Regions from separate parts of the Homo sapiens genome. Here region 2 is linked to region 1. Evidence: promoter capture Hi-C in human tissues and cell types (Jung and others, 2019). All regions are on one chromosome and are shown on one strand. Each heading gives the region's core, a stretch centred on a gene start or on the middle of the fragment in contact. The rest is flanking DNA. Distances are from core to core; before and after follow the strand shown.

What was found. The method cuts DNA at HindIII sites, captures the fragments that hold promoters and counts their contacts. A contact is called where the count stands out against the background at its distance.
Region 2: a contact is called between a fragment that was not itself captured here and the fragment with the promoter of PTPRT in region 1, in 1 of the 25 tissues and cell types used here (dorsolateral prefrontal cortex).

Annotation. Positions count from the first base shown.
Region 1 is chr20:43,187,074-43,192,263 of GRCh38, forward strand. PTPRT (protein tyrosine phosphatase receptor type T) reads right to left here and starts at 2,833. Exons shown (of 31, transcript NM_007050.6): 1 at 2,573-2,833. The coding sequence starts at 2,660. PTPRT-DT (PTPRT divergent transcript) reads left to right here and starts at 2,992. Exons shown (of 3, transcript NR_186414.1): 1 at 2,992-3,177. The HindIII fragment of the contact is 13,787 bases long and covers 1-5,095 here.
Region 2 is chr20:43,056,734-43,061,923 of GRCh38, forward strand. All of the region lies in intron 1 of PTPRT (protein tyrosine phosphatase receptor type T), which reads right to left. Among named protein-coding and RNA genes, the nearest start is that of PTPRT-AS1, 91 kb to the left of the region's middle. The HindIII fragment of the contact is 3,903 bases long and covers 84-3,986 here.

The DNA of each region.
Region 1 (5,190 bases), core at 1,583-4,082:
CAAGAAATATGTCTTAGAGTAAGGAAAAAGGAAATTGCCTTTTGATGACAAGCTTCCGCCCCGACTTTTGGACACTGAGACCAACATGTTACAGCAAAACATATTAGCCCAACTATGTTATGGATGTAACCTTATAAATTGAAATTGCTTTCAAGATTGGGAATTTTCAGATCAAAAGAACATGGAAAACACACTACTTAGTTTTAAAATGTATTTGTCCAAACTTGCCAAAAGTTTTAAATAAAATACTTTAAAGGAAATCAAGTTATTGTCATATTTATACTAGATTTGAAATACTAACAATTTCTGAATTTAGGAATAAAATAAGATAAGTCCATTTTTAAGTCAACATTTACAGTATTCTTGTTTTGACAAATACAGATGTTCATGAGGAACCCTGGGGAAAAAAAATCTAATTTAGATGGTCTAGTTGCCGTTAAACTGGAAAGGAGAGGACAGATATATACAGAAAATCCCCATTTCTACAAATGTGTGAGGCTTAGAATGCACCAGTTCTCCAATACAAGCTAATCCCATTCGTTTAAGGAGCCCCTGGCACAAAGGCACCCACTTGCTAAATATATGCTATATCGCAGGTTTGCAGAAACCACCCTGCCCAGGTAGACCCAAAAGAACCACAGATTTCTTCCCAAACCATATTCCAGGATTTCTTTTCTTTCTCCTGCATTCTAAAGAGCAAACAAAGAAAAGGTGCTCGCTCCTCACACTTCTCTAAATGTTTTAACAAAAGGCTGCTGAATAAACACATTACTCATTTAAAAATTGAAAAGAAGTTCTATTCCTGATATGAAAGCAACCAGATTTGCATTTTAATAGTTGTGGGCGAGCGCCACCTGGCGGGAGCATCCGGAACGGGCGGCGTTCAGCACTGGACAGCTTCCCGAGCCGGTACGGGTTTTACCGCTTGCTACCCAAGAACGATTCGAGACCCGTGATGGAATATTTTTGATCCTGTTTCTGCCGCGGGAACGTGAGTGGTATTAATGTGTGGTTGGCCGGTCATGCCTTAGAGGATATAAAATCTGAGTCACGAATCATGCCTGGATCCCCAGGACTGCCCCGGGCATCCTCCCTAGTACCCCTCCCTCCCCTAGCACACCTAACACACCCCCCAAAATGAGGAAAACAAGAATTGTGCACCATCTTTAGAATGGTGCTGTAGCTGTCCCTCTTCTCTCACTTGCTAATCCAACCTTTCAGCTTCACACACCTCAAAAGGAGTGTCTTCGTCACCCAACTTCCCAGCCAGGGAAACAGGCTGTCCCTTCACAGAAGTCGCCTATTCCGCTTCCATTTTAGTACCAAGCAAGGAAGGCTCTAAAGCATTTCCAACGGAATGTCCTTCCAGCGGCCCTTAACCTCAGACGCAGCTTGTGCAAAGACGCTGTACCTCCCCACAGGTTCGTTCTTTTGCTCTTTCTTTCTTCCTTTCCTTCTTTCGGTGAAATAATAAATGGGCACAGCTGTTGCTTAGCGATCCGAAACCAGCCTGTTCCTGCGTCCCACGGGCTGATCTCAGCCTGTCCCCGCAATCCCAGCCACCTCAGGCCGGCGTGGTTACACCAAAAGCAATCGGTGCTAAGAAACTTTAAGGTGATTTTGAACTTGGAAGTACACCTGCAGCACTCCCTTCTCTTCCCTCCGCCGCTACTCTTGGGGGGGGGGGGGCTCGGGGGTGGAAGCTGCCTGCGGTGGGGCTTGGTGATGTGTAAGACCCTGGACTGTGGTGCCCTCCAGCACCCGCCAACGTGCCTTTAGGAGCACGGCAGGCACCACCCCCCCGCCCCCGCTCCCCCTACTCTGGGGAACTACCTCTGCTCACCGCCTTCCCGTGGCCAAACCCAAATATGAGTTCCCCGAACTTTTCAGGAGCGGACGCGCTCACGGGTCAAATCCACTCCCCTCCAAGGGCCTTAACACGGGCGCCCAGCTACCTCGGAGAAAAGCCAGCGGGTAGGGCGGAGGTATTGCTCTCGGTCATCAACGCAAACATCCCCTCGGGTGCCTACAGCGGCCTGCTTAGGGGAGCAGCGTGTTCAGAGCAAATGGAGAGCTTCCTGTATCTCCGAGGAAAAAAGAAAAGCCGCCGCCCCGGCAGCCTCGGCCTGCTGGGGACCTGTCCTCCCCACTAAAAGCGCGCGCTGCCCGAGGAGCTGCCCGGGAGAGAACGCTCCACCCCGGGCGTCGGTGCCGCTCCTCGTCTCGCCGCCCCAAACACTCAAGTGGCAGATTCCGACAAGTGGGAGGCAGCAAGTGGAAATATTCGCAACAACCGCGGAAAGTTACTCCAGCCCGGGGGGCCGGCAGGAAACTGAAGCGGGGAACTTCGCCAAACGCGGGCTGCCGAGGGACGCGAGGGGCCGGGCTCGCTGGCCGGGGCGCGCGGGGACACTGCTTCCCGCGCCTGCAAGCTGAGACCCGGGTTCCGGCCATGGGGACCCGCGCCCCCGCGAGCCCACACAACTTTCTCCTCCGAGGGCCCCGCGGCTGGGGGCCCGCGCGCATCCAGGAGGGAGCGGGGAGCCCAGGGGAGCCGGGCGGGCGCACTCACCTGCGGCGCTCTGAGCCCGGGCGCCGGGCAGTGGCGGCAGCTGCAGCCTCAGGAGCAGGCTGAGGGCGAGCGCGGCGAGGCTCGCCATCCGGGCGGCGGCGGGCAGCTCAGCCCCTTCCCGCGGGGGCCGGGGCCGGGACTGGGGCGGGCGCGGGGTGGCCCCGCATCGCCGGCGCGGCCGCTGGCTGTGCGCGCGGCTGGCTCCGCTCGGGCTCCCGGAGCCGGCGCTCCTGCGTTCCAAGCCGAGGCGCGGCGCGAACTGAGGCGGGAGGCTGGGCGGGGGCGGGACGCGGGGGGCGGGGGGCGGTGTCCCCCGAGTCCTAACGCCGCCGCCGTTGCCGCCGCCGCCGCCGCCGCCGCCCGCCCGGGCGCTCCGCCTCGGCCGTGCACACACCCTCACGCGCACGCCCGCGCCTGGCACACGCCCGCGGCTGGCACACGCGGGCTCCCCCGCGCACCCTCTCCGGGGCCGACCAGCTCGGGCCGCTGGCACAGTCACGCGCGTCCACACATCACCCCCGCACCCACACGCCGGGCAGGGTCCTCGCCTCTTCGCCCCGCGCCGCGCCGCGCAGCCAAGCATCGTCTGCCCTGTGGGGGCGCAGGTACGGGGGCGGTGCGGGGAGGAGGAAGCTGCAGCAGCCGTTTGAACTCGGGGTGGGGAACAGGTGAATGGGGGTTCGGTGGCGAGAAGAGGGAGGGAGGGAGCAGCCCTCGCAACTCAAGATAAGGGGCCAGGTGAATTGCGAAAGCGGGTGGGGGCGTCTGCCCAAAGCTGGGGCAGGCGGCTGCTGGCCAGGGTCTCGGGCACACCCTGAGATGAGAATTTCATCTAAGAGCGCGCGCGCGCACACACACACAACCCACTCACACTCTTCTGGGCGCATCGCTGACCGCGCCACAATCGTCGTCCCCCTCAATTAGCCGCCCACCCCACCTTCTTCTTCACCCACATCTCTCTCTTGTCCCCACCACCACGCGGAAGGGGGCGCAGAAGGGGCATGAGGCATCCCCCCACCCCCTACAATTTTTCCCTGGCAGCCTTCCCTTTCCTTTTCTAGGGAGACAGAACCTTGTAGCTTTTTCCCTTTTCTTCTCGGTCTTAACAAAGACCTGGTTGGGGCTGAAAGCCTAAAACCATAGATCAGGGTTGGAGCTGTCCCTGGCAGCCCACGGCCCACAGCCTGGCTCTCTGCTGTCCTGGGAGGCAGCTGGTACCTGAGTCTTGGCTGGGGGTCTGAGATGTAAAAGCCAGGGGCAGGGATACCCAGAAATGCTTAAGGGATTCACACTTTGTGAACACTTTGCTACCTGGCCAAAGCCCTCCTTCTTCTGTGTCAGCACAGCCCCCCACCCCCATCCTTGTTGGGGTACCAGGGACTGGACTGGGGAGACTGTAAGTGAATTGTGAAAATCAAGCATGGCAGGGTTTCCAAAAGTGGGGAGCCCCAGGCTCTGGACCCAAGTTGGCATGGCAGAGAACACAGGGCGTCACTCTGTCAGTCCCCAGTTCCCAGTCCCCACTAGGTAAAGTGGCCCAGTTCCCTGGCATGGAAGCCCAATTTACAATCCCAGGCAAATTCTTCCACCCCTCTCCGGACCCCGACTCCCACCACCACCACCATGACCGTGACCACTTTCAAAAGCTGACGTGCTTGGACTAGCCTGTTGGACCAGCCAGTGCCTCCCACACTTGCCTGGTCAAAGAACTACCAGGAAGATTTCTCCAAGTCCTGCTTCCCAGACCCCTGCTGGGGAGAGTGGAATTTGGCAGGCCTGTCGGGGGTGGCCTGGGAGTTGAACCTTTTACAAGCTGCTTTGGAGATTAATAATTCTACCAATATTTATGGTGCATTTAATTGTGTGCCTTACTCTGTGCTGTTCTCTGGGGATACCACAATGCTATAGCCCTTAGGGACAATTGGAATGGAAAGATCCCTTCTGCTCAGAGCTGAGCTTCCAGCTGTTTGCTCCATCACTCACTCATTCTAACCCTGCCTTGGGCAGATGAGCAGTTAGGAAGTGTGCGAGGAGAGGCCTGACCCAAGACCACCACAAGCGACCCCAGTCATGGCAGATCCCAGGGGATGACCCGGGTGGGGAGATTTCTAAGCCACTAAAGAGCTTGGTGTCACACTTGTAACTTGTTGCCACTTTCTTGGGCTCCTGCCAATTCATCCCCTCTCTCAAGCTTTCTGGAAAACTATAAAATAGCAGTTCTCACAGCATCCTCAGAGCAACGCCCTTTGGCACCCCCCTGCACTCCTGCTTTAGGGATGTGATATCACTGCAGACAAATCCCCCAGGTCTGAATGGGGTTCATGTGGCCCCGAGGGGAAAAAAAAAATTCAGTAGTCACTGAGCTGGTGGAGTGGGACCTGATCCTGCACCAGGACTTACCTGCCCAGGTGCACCGTGGTCATGAACCGTGACCCTCTGTGCTTTCTAAACCTCCCTCTACTCCGAGAAACTGCCCCCTCTCCTTCAGTAGCACGTGCTGCCACCTGCTGCCCGGCCAGGCTCTGGCACCCACAGCACTGCCACGCTTTTGCACCGGCCAGTCCCTCTGCCTGGAAGCCCTGCACTGTATCATCTCCCTGGGAAACTCACACTAGCCC
Region 2 (5,190 bases), core at 785-3,284, 130 kb before region 1:
ATAACAGTGGGAAAACATTAACAAATCAAATAATAAAAATGATAATTTATCAATTTGCCAACTTGCTCAGCAGACTCAAACGGATTAATTGTTCCAGGTTTCTGAGGGGGAACAAAACCCAAGTAAAGGCTAGTCTTGAAAACAAAGTATTTTTGCAAAGGAAATTTTTCCTCAAGCGTCCTTATTCCTGCTTCCTTTTATCTTAAAAGTGATGGCAAATGAACTATCGATGCATGCAACAACCTTGATGAATCTCCAGGGCATTGTGCTGAGGGAAAAAAGGCCAATCTCAAGGGCCTTTCTACTGTCTGATTCTACTTATATAACATTCTTGACATGACAAAATTGTAGTGATAGAAAACAGATCAGTAGTTGCCAGGGGCTTGGGTGGGGAAGAGTGTGTCTCTTAAACAGTAACACAGGAGAGTTTCTTTGTGGTCATGGGTCAGTTCTGCCTCCTGACTGTGGGGATAGTCACTTGAATCTACACACATGATGAAAGTTCATGGGGGTTGGGAGGGTGGGGAATGAAGGAAGGAGGAAGGGGGGGAAGGGGAGGGGAGGGGGGAAGGAATGGAGGAGGAGGGGGGAAGGGGAGAAGGAGGGGAGGGGAGAAAGGAAGGAAGGGCAGGGAGGTAGGGAAGGAAGGGAAGGAAAGGAGGAAAAGAAGGAAGGAGGGAAGGAGGGGAGGGGAAGAGAGGGGAGGAAGGAAAAGGAGGGTTGAAAGGAAAGGAAAAAGGAAAAGGGAATGAAAGGGAAGAAAAAAACTAAAAAAGAAAGTGCATGTGAAAACTAGTGAAGTCCAAATAAGGTAGATCTCTAAGTTAACAATTTCCTGGTTTTGACAATATTACTATGATTATGTAAAATATTACCTTTAGAGAAAGCTGGGTGAATGGTACAAGGAACTCTGTACTATGTTTGCAACTTCTTGTACATCTGAAAGTATTTCAAAATAAAAACTTAGAATTCTTTAAAGTGATGGCAAAGGCCCTGGACCACCAGGTTCTGAGTTGGGAAATATGCCTTGTACTTCCAGATTGGGCAACATGAATATGATAACTGCAGAGAGTTCAGGGGCTACTCACAGGACCTTTGCCATTAGTCACATGATTATTTGTTTATTCTTTGTCTTCCTTCTAGACTATAAATGCCTGGAGGTCAGGAGCCAAGTCAGTTTTGTTCCCCCACTCAATGCCTAACCCAGTGCTTAGTACATAGAAAGCACCCAGTATATATGTGTGAGATGAACAAAAAAACAAGAAGGGGAACAGGCAAGGAAGGAAGTATCACTCACGCTTTACAGAGGCAGTGGTGTGCAGAGGTTTCCATGCCTTGCCCTTGTGCACACAGCTGGAGAGAAGCAGGACAGGTACAAAAACCATCAGGGCTTCCAGAGTGCCCAGTGACCTTTTCTTAGTGCCATATGCCTCTCAACTTAGATCCCTGGTAGTTGCTTTATCTTACATAATAAAAAAAGTAAGAGGGGAGGAAAAAAAGAGCAGACACAGAGAGAGAAATGAGACAGAGAGACAAAGAGATATGAGGAAAGTAGTGAGAGAGATCGGGTGAAAGAGGGCAAGAAAGAGGGAGGAAGAGAAAGTGAGTGGGGAGAGAGAACAATGAAGAGAGAGAGGGAAGGAGAGAAGAGAGAAAGAGAGCCAGAGAAAGAAAGAAGGAGAGAGGAAGAGAGAGAGAGAAAAGAGGATGGAAGGAAAGGAGAGAGGGAAGGCAAGAGAAAATCTGCCCCAACATGGAAAATGACATTGAACAAATGGATTCCAAATTTTAACACGGCCCCACACCATAGGCCCAGGCCTCTGTAACTGCTCTAATTGCTCAGAAATGGTATTGTAATGTGAACAATATGTCATTAAGCAATAAACGCTTCATGCAAAATAACAAAGTGGTCATCAGTGAGATGGAAACCAGGAATAACCAAGGGAAATTGTGCTCCACATCTCTCCATGCTCCAATTATCAGACTGATCAGTGGCTCCTTTTGTCTGTTCAGAAGGTGCTGCAGTTTTCAGTACAACATAATATAATGTGAAATGCAATACACCAAGACTAAGAAAACCTTATTTTTTTTTCAGTCTTACAGAGAGAGCAACAGATTCAAATTTGAATTCAGGCTCTGCTATCTTCTTTGCAGCCACTGCGGCCCAAGCTGCACTGGGGCCCACTGGAGACCACCTCGGGTGACCAATGAGTATAGCATCAGAGTGTGGGGAGCAGAGTCTTCAATGTGAGGTGGCGCCAGGTAGGGCATGTCAAGGTCCTGCAGCCACTGGGAGCTCTTCCTTTGAAACCAGTCTGCACCCTGCACCTAGCCCTTGCACTCTGAGCCTATGATGGCAGGGGCAGGTCTGACGATCTCAGAATCAACTTTAGGGTCATTCTTCCACTGTCTTGGAGAATAGCTCCTGGCTTCCGTTAAGACTGCTGATTCATACTAATCTCCTTATCAAACAGTTGCTTGGACATAGCCTTAATGTTCTTTTTTTCAATATGTATAGGCTGAGAATTTTTCAAATCTCTAAGTTTTGATTCCTTTTTGCTTAACAATTTCATTTTTGAGTCATTTCTCTCTTCCTTGCATTTTACTCTGAGCAGTGAGGAGGAGCCAAGGCATACCTTCAACATTTTGCTTAGAAAGAGCTTCAGCTAAATATCCAATTTTATCATTCACAAGTTTTACCTTCCACAAAACACTAGAACATGAAGACAATTCATTCAGCTAAAAGCTTTGCCGCTTGATAAGAGATTGTCTTTTCTCCATTGCCCAATAACGTGGCTCTCATCTCCAACTGAGACCTCAGCAGAATGGCCTTTACCATCCGTATTTCTACCAACATTCTACTCAGCATTACTTAGGTATTCTCTCAGGAGGTGGAGGCTTTCTCTTGAGCTTTCTTCCTCTTCTGAGCCCTCACCAGAATCACCTTTAAAGGTCTGTTCAACAGCCAGGCCCAGTGACTCATGCCTGTAATCCCAGCATTTTGGGAGACTGAGGTGGGCAGATCAACTGATGTCAGGAGTTCAAGACCAGCCTGGCCAACATGGTGAAACCCTGCCTCTACTAAAAATACAAAAATTACCTGGGCATGGTGGTACACGTCTATAATCCCAGCTACTCAGGAGGCTGAGTCATGAGAACTGCTTGAACCCAGGAGGGGGAAGTTGCAGTGAGCTGAGATTGTGCCATTGTACTCCAGCCTGGGAGTGCAATGTATTCTGAGACAGAGTGAGACTTTGTCTAAAAAAAAAAAAATACATTATTTTATTTTTGTTATTATTATGTCTGTTCAAGGCAGTGTAGGCTTTTTCTAGCACGTACCTCAAAACTCTTCCAGCCTCATTATCCAGTTCCAAAGCCTGTTCCACATTTTCAGGTGTTTGGCACAGGAGCACCCCCATTTCTCGGTACCAATTTTTATCTTAGTCCATTTGAGCTGCTGTGACAGAACACCATAGACTAAGTGACTTATCAACAACATAAATTTATTTCTCACTGTTCTGGAGCCTGGGAAGTCCAAATTCAAGGCTACAAGAAGTTCTGTGTCTGGTGAGGACCTGCGTCCTGGAACATGGATGGTCTTCCTCTTGCTGTTTCCTCACATGGTGTGAGGGACAAGGGGGCTTTCTGAAGTCCCTTTTATAAGAGCACTGATTTATAAGAGCTTTCTTTCCTGGCCTAATCATCTCCCAAAGGCCCCACCTCCAAGTAACACACATCAGGGGTTAGATGTCAATAAACAAATTGTATGGGAACATAAACATTCAGTCTATAGCAGTCACTTTTCATCTATGTGACTATGAGCAAGTTAATATTTTTAATTCGGCTTTATTATCTGCAATACAGGCACAACAATACATACTTTGCATGGTTATTGTGAAGATTGAATGAAATAATTTATACAAATGTGGCTACTAGCACAGTGCCCACCATGCATTTAGCACTAAACAAGGACCTCTGTGTTCTCTTCCAGAGAGCTCTTCATCCAGAAGCTCAACACAAAATGTTGCACACTGTAGGACCATTCATATGACGTTCTACAATCAATAAAATGTGCCTAGTAAGAATTAGACTTGTTTGGGAGGAGGAGAACTAAAGGGCACAAGGGTACTTTCTGGGGTGACAGGTTGTGTATTTTGGTAAGATTATAGGTGTTACAGGAGTGCATGCATTAGCCAAAACTTTCTAACCCATATATTTAAGATCTACATACTTTACAGTATTTAAATTATACCTCAATAAAAAATTTAAAATAGATAGCTAGATATCTAGATAGCCAGATCTGTAGGTAGGTGGGTAAGTAGGAGGGTGGGTGAGTGGATGGGCGGATAAATGAATGGATGGATGGATGGATGGATGGATGGATGGATGGTCAGTCAGGGTACCTACTTCAGCATGAGGCTCACAATAAGCATTCCACAAGTATTTCTGAAGTTCCAGAATCAAAATTAATTCCTCTTAACTCCTTTCCGTCACTACTCTCGCTCCTCCAGAAACAATCTACTCAACTGTAGGGTGGCACAGCCAGTTCTAAAAGTGCTTCCTTCTATGTGCCTGAATCCTGGTCCCTGATACTCCGACTCAAGAGGCCAGGTGGATGACATCTGCCCACTGCCTCCTTATAACAGAACTCAACGGTCTTGAGTATCAAATGTGCTCGGCCTCATGTTGAGCACCTTTAAGTCCTTCACTGTACTAGTCACCTTCAATTCTTCAAAATCTCCTTGGACCGTGAGCCCAGATGGGCCTCTAGATGTCATCTTTTAAGTATGTGTCCTCAACGAATGGGCTCTGGGCAGCTCTACTGCTATGAAGTGGTGTCCACCATCTGGAGCTCATGCCTGTGGTTTGGTGCATAGTAATTGCCAATATCTACTGAGCACTTACTCCATGTCTAGCACTGTTCTAGATACAACATGTTTTCACTCCTTTAGCCTCCACAATAAATCAAAGAAGTCTATGTCCTTCCCATTTTACAGATCTGATCCAACAGAATTTCAAGGTAACTCTTTATCTCAGGGTCTTTTCAGACCCCATTAAATCCCATCTGCAAATCTCATCTCCACACCTTTATCCCACCCATCGTTATAATCGAATTGCTGTGACTCAGGCAGAACAACTCTTGCCTAACATACAAAGCAGGAGTTCAATTTAAAACATGACAGTGGAGTT